Regions from separate parts of the Homo sapiens genome. Here region 1 is linked to region 2. Evidence: promoter capture Hi-C in 16 types of primary human blood cells and fetal thymus (Javierre and others, 2016). All regions are on one chromosome and are shown on one strand. Each heading gives the region's core, a stretch centred on a gene start or on the middle of the fragment in contact. The rest is flanking DNA. Distances are from core to core; before and after follow the strand shown. Region 1 holds the start of GIT2 (GIT ArfGAP 2). Region 2 holds the start of GCN1 (GCN1 activator of EIF2AK4).

Region 1 (5,695 bases), core at 1,031-3,530, about 10 Mb after region 2:
TTGAGGTTATGGCTGAAAGGACTGATAAATAATATACATATTTGACCACAGTCTGCGAATATGAAGTTTATTCTTTGAGTTTCAGGCACTATGCCTCCTTGACTCAATGAAGAACCAAATCAACTTACAGCTAGCTACTCATGGGCTTGAACTTTCTGCTGCTGCTTCAGCTCAGCTGTCTACAACTAGACCACATAGCTGGATGAAGCTATTTAATGCATTGTGAAAACATTCCCTCTGCCCTCTGAGTGTATGCACATCCAGCTCTTCAGATGCCTGCAACAACAGCTGTTCAAGAATCCCAACCTAATCCATTCTCCACAGATGTGGAGCCCAGAAGATTTGTGAGTTGTTAAACCAAAACAGGATGCAGGAGCACCAGGATGGCACCCGGAGACTCTAACCATGGAATGCGTGGGAATTCTGTGATTATTTCTCCATCACACATTTATCACACTGTAGAGATGGACTCAAGACCAGTGCTTCTGAGGCCTTTTCCAGCACTTCTCATTCTTTCAGATGCCTTTTGCAACTTAACGTTCTCCTTCTTCTTCATCATGCCGTGTTTATTGAAAATCTCCCTATCTCATTAATCAGAAAACCCCATAATGACAGGAACCACATCGTTTTGCTTACCAGAGTATCTAAAACCAAAATAGTACCTGGCTAACAACAGGCATTCAATATTTGCTGAATGGAGATCATAGCTGTGTTTATATGTAAGACAGACAATAAGTAGTCATTGGTATTAGGGTCACATCTCCTTTCTCCTTCACACTGATTTACCTCATTTCATTGTGTTTATCTCACACCATTTTGTAAATTATCCCATGTTAGCTATTGTTATTCTCAAATTCCACGCATATGAAGAAAAACAGTAATTAGAAAATAATAGCAATATCCATAATTATGGGAGCTACTATTTACTGAGGGGTTACTATCCAGCAGGTGTATCACATTTTTCCCATAATTTATTCCATCTGTCCTTAGCCAAAATGAATGTTTAACTTTGCTGGTCACATACAAGTTTTGTCGCATATTCTTCTTCCTCTTTTTCTTTATTTCCCTCTCTCTCTTCTTCATTTTCATCTCGCAACCCTTTAAAAATGTAAAAATCATTCTTAAGTAGCAAGCCATACAAAAACAAATCGTGGACTAGAAGTAAACAATGCATTATCTTAATTTTGAACATGAGATTAAAACTGAAGCCTAAGGAATCATCTAATATATTCTTTTTTGTTATTTTTGTTGTTGTTGTTGAAGTTGTTTTTGAGACAGTCTCGCTCTGTCCCCCAGGCTGGAGTGCAGTGACGCGATCTCTGCTCACTGCAACGTCCACCTCCCAGGCTCAAGCGATTCTCATGCCTCAGCCTCCTGAGTATCTAGGATTACAGGCATGCGCCACCACGCCCGGCTAATTTTTTTTTTTTTTTTTTTTTTTTTGAGACGGAGTCTCACTCTGTCGCCCATGCTGGAGTGCAATGGCGTGATCTCAGCTCACTGCAACCTCCACCCCCTGGGTTCAAGCTCCTGCCTCAGCCTCCCAAGTAACTGAGATTACAGGCTCCTGCCACTGTGCCCGGCTAATTTTTGTATTTTTAGTAGAGACGGGGTTTCACCATGTTGGCCAGGCTGGTCTTGAACTCCTGACCTCGTGATCCACCCGCCTCGGCCTCCCAAAGTGCTGGGATTACAGGCGTGAGCCACCGCGCCCGGCCAATTTTTGTATTTTTAGTAGAGATGGGGTTTCACCATGTTGCCCAGGCTGGTCTCGAACTCCTGCCTCAAGTGATCCTCCTGCCTCAGCCTTCCAAAGAGTTGAGATTACAAGAGTGAGCCACCACGCCCAGCCTGGAATCATATAATATATTCTTATTTTACTTTACCCCAGTAAAATGCAAGCTTCATAAGGACTAGAAATTCAGTCTTTGCTCACTGCTGTTTCTCCAGTGGCTGGGACAGTATATAAAGCATGGTAAGTGCTTGATAAACATTTGTTGAATCAAGGAATGAATGAATGAACTTGACCATTGATTGCCTCAGGAAGGTTGTGGCTGCAGGGTTCTCATCACAAGATATTGCTACTTCCCCTGGTATTAATCAGTTGGGACGAGGGGAATCTCTGCCAGAGAAGAAGACCCAAATTCAATATTTAAAGGTAGGACAGATGATACTCGGGCAGTCTCCTGCCCTCACTCAAGATGGCGACAAGGCAGAGTGCCCTTTCCGGTCACATGACCTGACACTCGCCGAAGGGCACCTCCCCGCGCGTGCGTGCTGTGCCAAGGCTGCAAGGCGCTGAGGGGAGAGGCGCCGCCGTCAGCGCCGCCGCAGCTGGGACCCGTTAGAGCGGAAGCGCCGCCGCCACCGCCGCCTTTGCTGTCCCCCGGCCTCTAGTTCCCCGCAGGTGGGAGGTGGGAGCCATGTCGAAACGGCTCCGGAGCAGCGAGGTGTGCGCTGACTGCAGCGGGCCGGGTGAGTCGCACCGGCCGGGCCCGCTCCCCTCTGCTTTCCTGGCCCGGACCCCTACCCCGGGGCCGCCCCCTCAGGTCAGGCTGCATCCCGCGGCTAGGGTCGCAACGAAGAGGTCCCTGGGCGGCCTTGGGGTGGGAACCGTCCCGGGCCTGTCAGAGCCGGGCGGGCAGGGGGCCGCCGCCCTCCCCGTCCCTCGCGGCCCTCCCTTCCCTCTCGTTCCCTCCCGTTCCCTCCGTCCTAGGCCAACTGGGGAGGTGACGGGGGCCAGGGCTGCTCCCCCAACAGGAAGGGGCTTGGGCAATCCACAGGAAAGCCAATTACAGAAGTAAAATGTGAGCGTCCTCCCGGCTGCAGCCTCCAGAGGCTGCAGGTGTCACCTCCCACTAGACCCTTTCTCCGCCTGGGTGTCCTGCCCGGGGAGGATGACACTCCCTGAGACTCGCCAGAGGGTCCCCGTAGATGACTTCCCCGCTGCTGACATCCGACAGCTACTCTGCCCGGGAGAATTGCCAGGAGATCGGGGTCTTCCAAACACAACCAGCACTTAGGAGGCAGTGCTTGTCTCAAGTTTGAGGATCTGAACGGCCTGGGTTCAAACTAGATTTTGCTTCTGGCTGACCTTGGGCTGGTGACTTCACTTGGTCACTTGCTTGATTTCCTCATTTTTTTCAATGAGGATAATCGGGAGTATCACGCTTAGTGGTGAGGAAGATTCAATGAATACTCGTAGAATCATATCATCTAAGGCTTTTCTTTTTTGCATTATGCTGTCTACAGTAGAACTCTTGTAGTCCCTTAAAGCTATATTTGACTATCTAAATCATACGTTGATTACAACGGAAACAAACGCAAAATCACCAGCAATATAGGGGCATTGAAACGCTAAAGCCATTCCTTCATAATGATGCATAACTGTTCATACATAATATTCACATTTAGAGATCAAGTGTGTCTTAGCAATTGCAACTGAATTGTCAGGTCTCTGGATAGATTATTACATGCTGTTTTAGGTGCTTGGATGTATTGGCTTTGAGTTAATTCGAAGGTAACATGGCTTTCTTGGCACAATAGTGTCCGATAAACAATCTTAATTAAATCATTGAACACCACTGGCTTTGCAACTGTTCTGATCTTAAGCTTGTCATTTGGAAGTGGAGACCAATTGTAAATAGAACTGTGATAACTCAAACCTCATGTGGTTGTTTTATGGCCCGTACAGTGCAGGTGTTACCAGTTTCCTTTGAAGATAGGGAGGGGGTATGGAGGAGTTTAAAAAGAAGTGTTTTCTAAACCAAGTTAGTGTGAGTTATACAAACTCCATCATTTTCTCTAAAAATGTTATTTGTTCCACTTCCTTATTTTCTTGCCTATTTTCAGTTGAACTTACCGTGATGTATTTGATTCACATGTGTCTAGCTTCTAACTTCCTCTTGGAATGCATATTGTTTTGCTTCTTGATAGGGTACAGGGCAAAGCAAAATTGTTCCTCCATTGCCATCCTAAATATACTTTTGCAGCATTTTGTGCATTTCAGAACATTTTCTCTTCCATTGTATCGCTTTAGTTGTTGTCTCATACGCCTAATCTGCAGAGACTTGAGTCACTTCCTTCCTGTTTTGAATATAATTAGGCTACCTTGAAATATTCTGTGAAATTGAGCAGCTGGGAATTTGTGCTGCCTTTTCTGCACAGCCCTACTGAGAGAATTACCTGTAGGGTTAGGGACCCCTTTGAGATTCTGTTGAATGCTAAGGCCTTCTCCCCTAAAATGCACGTGAACGAATTTACCTAAGATTTGTCTGGGGGAGTCACAAACATTTTTGAAGTTCATTTGTGGTGTCCCTGGAGCCCTGGCTCCAGATGAACTTAAAGGGTTTTACCCAATCTCATTCATACAAACATTTTTATTTTACTATGTTAACATTCTAATATTCTTTCCATGGGATTCTGATCCAGGATGCTAAAGTGGTTAGTCGAATACTTGTCTTAATTAATATGTGTTAAATACTTGCTAAAAAAAGAATACTGCAAATCCTCTGAATAAGTGAAAACCAAAGCTATGCTTCAAAACAGTCTTTTTTTTTTTTTTTTTTTTTTGCCATTAGTGTCAGTACTATACTGCAGGAAGCAGTGTTGTTAATGCATCTTTGTAGAGCTCCTTCATCTGGACATTTCCAATCTCTGCTTTTTAGGATGATACAGTAATAGCGACAGAGTTATACTAAATTGAATTATTTTGATTCTGTTTTATTTTATGCAAACATTTAACCATGATCACATCTTCTTAAATATTCTACTTTTTTTTTTTTAATGAATCTGGTTCATTTCAAATACATCACACTCTGAGTTCAATTACTTGAAAACTCCATGGAGATTTTCAGTACAGTAGTAGAGTGGTCACATGAAATGTTCAATGTTTTAAGTATTTCCCATCAAAAACTTTGTCCAGTGATCATGAATTTCACGTCTAGAAAATATCTGAATACTGAGAAAATAATTTAGAAAAGATATAACAACTAACATTACTACTTTACTATGTGTGAGGTACTTCACTTATTCTCTATATCCTTACTATCCCGAGATTTGTCATTGTTCTCATTTGAACCATGGTGAAAACACTCAAGTAACTTGTCTGAGATCATTGTGCAAGAAGTGGCAGAGTTGGGGTTCAAACCCTGAACTCCTTGTCTCTAGAGCCAACCCTCTTAACCACCATACTCACTGGCTCCCAGGATTCGTCTTTGATTGAAAGCCCATAACTTTTCATTATATGGTTTGAAAGGGTTTGAATAAACTCTTAAAAAATGGTAAAGATGGTGTACATGCATTTTAGAGATTTTTGTGGACATTGAAGAATTTTTAAATGTAACCCTTTGACCAGGCAGCTTAAGTGGCACCTATTGTCACCCCATTGTGAGTCTGACGAAGTATAGCTCTTTCTTTATTTGAGGTTTCTAGGTATTCAGTTTACTTACCCAGATCCATCCTGCTTGCCAAGTATGAAATTATTCCTTGTTTCAAAGGACAGCTAATGAAGCTCTATGACTTTAAAGGGAAAAAAGTATTATACACACACTAAAAATATTATTCATTTTTATTTTACATCTTTGCCTCTGTGAAGCTGCTGTTATTGCAACTTCTTTTTTTTTTTTCAGATCAGTTGCAGGATTGGACTTGGTAGTTTATGTAAAACAATTAATTGGCTGGGCACAGTGGCTCA
Region 2 (5,868 bases), core at 3,274-5,773:
GGTGATTGTCTCCCATAAACTTCTCTTTGCAGACTGCTGCCTCATATCCGGGGGAATGTGGGCTTTGTGTTCACCAAGGAGGACCTCACTGAGATCAGGGACATGTTGCTGGCCAATAAGGTAAGGGGACAATTGGGTTGGCTAAAGAGACTTTGTTGTTGCTCCTTAAAGCAAAATGGACCATTCTCAGGTTGTGTGAGTGGAGAGGCTTTTCTCACTGTTTGTTGTCTTTGTCAGGTGCCAGCTGCTGCCCGTGCTGGTGCCATTGCCCCATGTGAAGTCACTGTGCCAGCCCAGAACACTGGTCTCGGGCCCGAGAAGACCTCCTTTTTCCAGGCTTTAGGTATCACCACTAAAATCTCCAGGGGCACCATTGAAATCCTGGTGAGTGGACCTGGTTTGCCTGTGCTAACCAGGCAAATGGGGAGCTGCTTTTAGTGGCCATGGATCTGCTGGTTGTCCAACAGGTGTTTACTGCCCCACTATTATCTGGTTCAGAGTGATGTGCAGCTGATCAAGACTGGAGACAAAGTGGGAGCCAGCGAAGCCACGCTGCTGAACATGCTCAACATCTCCCCCTTCTCCTTTGGGCTGGTCATCCAGCAGGTGTTCGACAATGGCAGCATCTACAACCCTGAAGTGCTTGATATCACAGAGGAAACTCTGCATTCTCGCTTCCTGGAGGTATATGCTGTCAGCCTTGCCCCCTCTTACACTGATGGTTGAGAGCATGACAAGGTTCAGACTGAGTCCCTGTAACCAAGGACTGTGTTTTCATCTGTCTACCTACCTCATCTGTAAAATGTCAGTAACAACATAAGATTGTTGAAGGATTTTTTTTTTTTTTTTTTGGAGACAGAGTCTTGCTGTGTCGCCCAGGCTGGAGTGCAGTGGCACAATCTCCCGGCTCACTGCAAGCTCCGCCTCCGGGTTCACACCATTCTCCTGCCTCAGCCTCCTGAGTAGCTGGGACTACAGGCACCCGCCACTACGCCCGGCTAATTTTTTTGTATTTTTAGGTTTCACCGCGTTAGCCAGGATGGTGTCGATCTCCTGACCTCGTGATCCGCCCAACTCGGCCTCCCAAAGTGCTGGGATTACAGGCATGAGCCACCACGCCTGGCCAAAGGATTTAATGAATTAATGGATGTACAGTGCTGGGGCTGTTATTCTAGGGCCTGCATTGAGACTCACATTTTGCCATCAAAAGCCTTTTAAGAGGTGGAGGTTGCGGTGAGCTGACATGGTGCCACTGCACTCCGGCCTGAGTGACAGAGTGAGACTCTGTCTCACAAAAAAAATAATGCCCTTTAAATAATGAATAATAGTGATAGAAAATGTCATTTCTTGGACAAATGAAAAATTGAAATTAATGTATATAATTAGATATTATTAGCTACTCTTAGGTAGCTTCATTTGTTGAAAGTTTGACAAGTGAATGAAGTTCACATCTGGAAATCGTTGAACATTTTTCGTTCATGGAACTCAATGGCTACGTTAGTCGTTTATGCTTTTCACTGTTGTGGTAGGGGCTTTGGAAGTAAATGCCATCAACAATGGATACAGAAGACCTGGATTTGGAATAAGGGCAAAATTTATTTGATGGGGCTGAATTGCTCTGCCAGGAGCATTTGGTATGAGATGAAATGGCCTCTCTTGAGACTGAGCTGCCAACCTGGCAATTATTGTCTGCTAAGGGTTCTCTTTATTCACCCTTACTTGGACTTCCTTTCCTGTAGGGAATCTCACGTAAAATGAAATCTTCCCTCCCCCAGGGTGTCCGCAATGTTGCCAGTGTCTGTCTGCAGATTGGCTACCCAACTGTTGCATCAGTACCCCATTCTATCATCAACGGGTACAAACGAGTCCTGGCCTTGTCTGTGGAGACGGATTACACCTTCCCACTTGCTGAAAAGGTAAAAGGATCCCACCAGGACCACAGTGGGCCTGACTGTGACAAATTAGCAGGGTGATGTGGCCTTCTACCTTACTGCTTTTATAGTTGTATTTTATATAGCAGATAATTTTGTGAGGGGATATTTGAGAGGTTGGGAGGCAGGGAAGGCGTTTCTCACTTGAGAAATGACAAGAGACCCAAAGAGGGGGTTAATGGGCAAGAGCTGGGCCTTAGGAACCCTGCCTCACTAGGCCATACCCAAGCTGTCCTGCTTGGGCTGCTTCTGACAGGAAAGGCTTCACACGGACTTTGATATTGTTGGTCCTTAAACTCTACCAAGGCAGGAGGGTGGTGGGTAATAGAGGAGTGTGGATGACCATTTTGACCACTTCCCCCCTCCTTTCAGGTCAAGGCCTTCTTGGCTGATCCATCTGCCTTTGTGGCTGCTGCCCCTGTGGCTGCTGCCACCACAGCTGCTCCTGCTGCTGCTGCAGCCCCAGCTAAGGTTGAAGCCAAGGAAGAGTCGGAGGAGTCGGACGAGGATATGGGATTTGGTCTCTTTGACTAATCACCAAAAAGCAACCAACTTAGCCAGTTTTATTTGCAAAACAAGGAAATAAAGGCTTACTTCTTTAAAAAGTCTCTGGACTCTTAATTTTGTAATTTTTTTTCCTTTTTGACACAGGGTCTGGCTGTTGCCCAGGCTGGAGTGTGGTGGTGTAATCATAACTCACTGCACCCTTGAACTCCTGGGATCAAGGGATCCTCGTATCTCAGCCTCCCAAGTAGCTGGGACTACAGGCACACACCATGACACTCAGCTACTAATTTTTAAATTTTTTTTTTGTAGAGATATTGCACAAGCTGGTCTCAAATTCCTGGCCTCAAGGAATCCTGCCTCAGCCTCCCAAAGTGCTAGGATTACAGGCTTGAGCCACCATGTGCCTGGCCCTTAATTTTGAGGTTTATAGTGCCATATGCTAGAAACGAAAGCCATGGTAAAACCAGAGCTTTGTATTTAGGTGTTGATGTTTGGGTATCTAAATGAAGCTACCAATCAAACATCCTATACAGTTTTCTAGACACAGTTGTAACTATTACACTAGAATTACTGTTTCTATGGCTGCTGCATACTTGGAGTAGGTTTAGTGTCAGCTGAGATAGGCACCTGGTGGATGCTGGGGCCAGTCCCCTAGAGTAAAGTTTTTCAAACTGGGTGGTGCTCCAACTCGGTGGTAACCAATTTATATTTTCGAGATAGTCTCAAATATATTTGAGACTGGGGTGCAGTGGCTTGGACTTGGCTCACTGCAACCTCCGCCTCCTGGGTTCAAGTGATTCTCCTGCCTCAGCCTCCCAAGTAGCTGCAATTACCGGAGGCTGCCACCACACCGGGCTAATTTTTTTGTTGTTGAGACAGTCTCGTCCTGTCACCCAGACTGGAGTGCAATGGTATGGTCTCAGCTCACTGCAACCTCTGCCTCTCGGGTTCAAGCGGTTCTCCCACCTCAGCCTCCCCAGTAGCTGGGACTACAGGCATGTGCCACCACTCGGCTAATTTTTGTACTTTTAGTAGAGACGGGGTTTCACTATGTTGGCCAGGCTGGTCTGGAACTCCTGACCTTGTGATCTGCCCGCCCTGTCCTCCCGAAGCGCTGGAATTATACAAGGGTGAGCCACCGCACCCGGCCTTTTTTTTTTTTTTTTTTTTTTTTGGTATTTTTAGTAGAGACAAGGTTTTGTCATGTTGACCAGGCTGGTCTGGAAATCCTAACATCAGGTTGATCTACCCACCTCAGCCTCCCAAAGTGCTGGGATTACAGGCGTGAGCCACCATGCCTGGCCCCAGTATTTAAAGAGAAAGCAGCATCTGCTGAGAATAGGTGTTTTTGTTGTGATTCCTGTATTTCACTTAGAGATCTGTCTGCTGGAACATGATATATTCATTCTAACTAGGTCTGTGTCAAAGGTTTGAAAGCCACTGCTAACAGGGCTGACAACTAAGCTGTGGAGACCCTGTTCCCTAAATTGCAGCCACGTCTGCACGTAGCCTCTTGCCCTGTGGCCTTCAAAACTCCCAGCCTGGGGCGTCCAGCATTTCCCCAGGGCAGGGGCCTCGTTCAGTTCTGAACCTTCCCTGACCTCCGTATCCAGCCACGTTTGCTAACCCTGTACAAGTCATCCGCCAACTGAACTACAAACTGAGGACAAAAGACTAGTTCACCGACTCTTTTACCTAGTTTTTAGTTCCTGCTATCTAGGAAGCAACACTTGTTTTTCTAAAGAACTTAGTCATCACTCAGGAAAGGCCCACGTAGGGCTGGCCCTGCGGGCTGGAAGTGGGTCAGGGGCTGCAAGGCGGGCCCATAGCGTTACACCGCGGGCTCACCACGTTACAAGCGCTAGTCTCCCACGAGGCGCCCGGGGCTGAAGAGCGGGCCCTGGGGAGGAGGCCTTGTGGCTCGGGCGCGGGCCAACTTTAAGCCCGTGATCCGGCTGCCCGGGCTGCAGCGGCCGCCGTCCTGCCCGGGGGCACCAAGCCCGGGGCCCTGCCCCCGCTGGCTCCCGGCCTCGCCCTGCCGCGTGGGCCACGCTGTGACCCGGAAGCGTTCCGGAAGCGGTTCCGGAGTCAGCCCCGGCAGGATGGCGGCGGACACGCAGGTGAGGCGGGCGGCTGCGGGGCCAACGCGGCCAGGGACTGGGTGCGGACGGTGGCCGTCGGGCGGGGCCCCTCTCGCTCCTCGGCTTAGGGGCGTTGGAGGTGGTGGCTGTGGAGGTCGTAGTCTCGGGGCCGTCTCAGGCTGGACTCTCAGGGCTGCGGGCTTGGCCCGGCCCGGGCGGCGCAGGCAGACCGCGGGCTCGAGGAGTCCGGGGCTCCCGCCTCGACTTCAGCAGCTGGAGCTCGGCGGGGCCTTTGCCCGACCCCAGAGTTGCAGAAGTTCACTTTACCGAGCCTCTACTTCTTTTCTCCAAAGCCCTCCGGCTGTGAGCCCCGGGCCAACGCCAAGTCTTCCTTAAACTTTGTATTCAGCAAATATTCTTTGAGCACCTACTATGAGCAGGGACTTTGAGTGTAGTCTTTGGATTCATACAGATCTGGGCTTGAGTTCCTGCTCGTCGATTTCTGTGACATGCCAAACAAGTGACTTAACCCCGCCAAGTCTGCCTTTTCATCTATAAAATGAAGTTAAAACAATACTTATCTTAAAAGGTTGTTGTGAAGGTTCAGTGAGATAAAATACGGCTTGATATATGTTGGTTGTTATCAGATCCAGGGTTAGTGAAAAGAACTGTCCTGTCCAGGAAGAGTGTTACCTATGGGTACCTTGTAGTTCAGGAAGGACCTGGGAAAACCTTTTCCTCCACCCAGTTGTTATGTTTTAAGGTGAAAAGACATTGTCATGAGGCAGGGGAAGAACAGGTGTCTAAGGACAGCTGGGCTGATTTGGTGTCTCCAGGGTGATGGGATTGATTTTTATGTGTAGGCCCAGAAAATGACCACTTAAGCATTCAAAAAGACATTTACTGAGACTCCTATGCAGGTGGCTGATGTTCAAGTTATGTTGTACTGAATACTAGAAAGAAAAGCTTAGTATGAGAGGGTTAGGGGAATACATGCTGAATGTTTAACATTGATACTCACTTGAGGGAAAAATCTCTAGAGCTGCAATGTCCAGTATGGCAGCCACATGGCTTAAGTTTGTTAAAATTAAATTAAATAAAAAAATTCATTGTTTGGCTGGGCGTGGTGGCTCACCCTGTAATCCCAGCACTTTGGGAGGCCAAGGCGGGTGGATCAGTTGAGGTCAGGAGTTTGAGACTAGTCTGACCAACGTGGCAAAACCCCGTCTCTACTAAAAATGCAAAAAATTAACCGGGTATGGTGGCATGTCTGTAATTCCAGCTACTCAGGAGGCTGAGGCATGAGAATCGCTTGAACCTGGGAGGCAGAGGTTGCAGTGAGCTGAGAT

What was found. Contacts are between HindIII fragments. The CHiCAGO score rates a contact against its expected background, and 5 or more counts as called.
Region 1: a contact is called between the fragment with the promoter of GIT2 here and the fragment with the promoter of GCN1 in region 2, in 1 of 17 cell types (total CD4 T cells). The highest score is 6.3, in total CD4 T cells.

Annotation. Positions count from the first base shown.
Region 1 is chr12:109,992,953-109,998,647 of GRCh38, reverse strand. It overlaps GIT2 (GIT ArfGAP 2), which reads left to right and starts at 2,280. Exons shown (of 20, transcript NM_057169.5): 1 at 2,280-2,475. The coding sequence starts at 2,424. RefSeq lists enhancers at 2,110-2,269, 2,960-3,009 and a silencer at 2,540-2,629. The HindIII fragment of the contact is 1,710 bases long and covers 1,905-3,614 here.
Region 2 is chr12:120,193,370-120,199,237 of GRCh38, reverse strand. It overlaps GCN1 (GCN1 activator of EIF2AK4), which reads left to right and starts at 4,523. Exons shown (of 58, transcript NM_006836.2): 1 at 4,523-4,558. The coding sequence starts at 4,541. RPLP0 (ribosomal protein lateral stalk subunit P0) reads left to right here. Exons shown (of 8, transcript NM_001002.4): 4 at 33-120; 5 at 238-384; 6 at 499-684; 7 at 1,776-1,916; 8 at 2,304-2,539. The coding sequence ends at 2,465. RefSeq lists enhancers at 1-423, 543-1,042 and a silencer at 4,226-4,815. The HindIII fragment of the contact is 5,843 bases long and covers 1-5,487 here.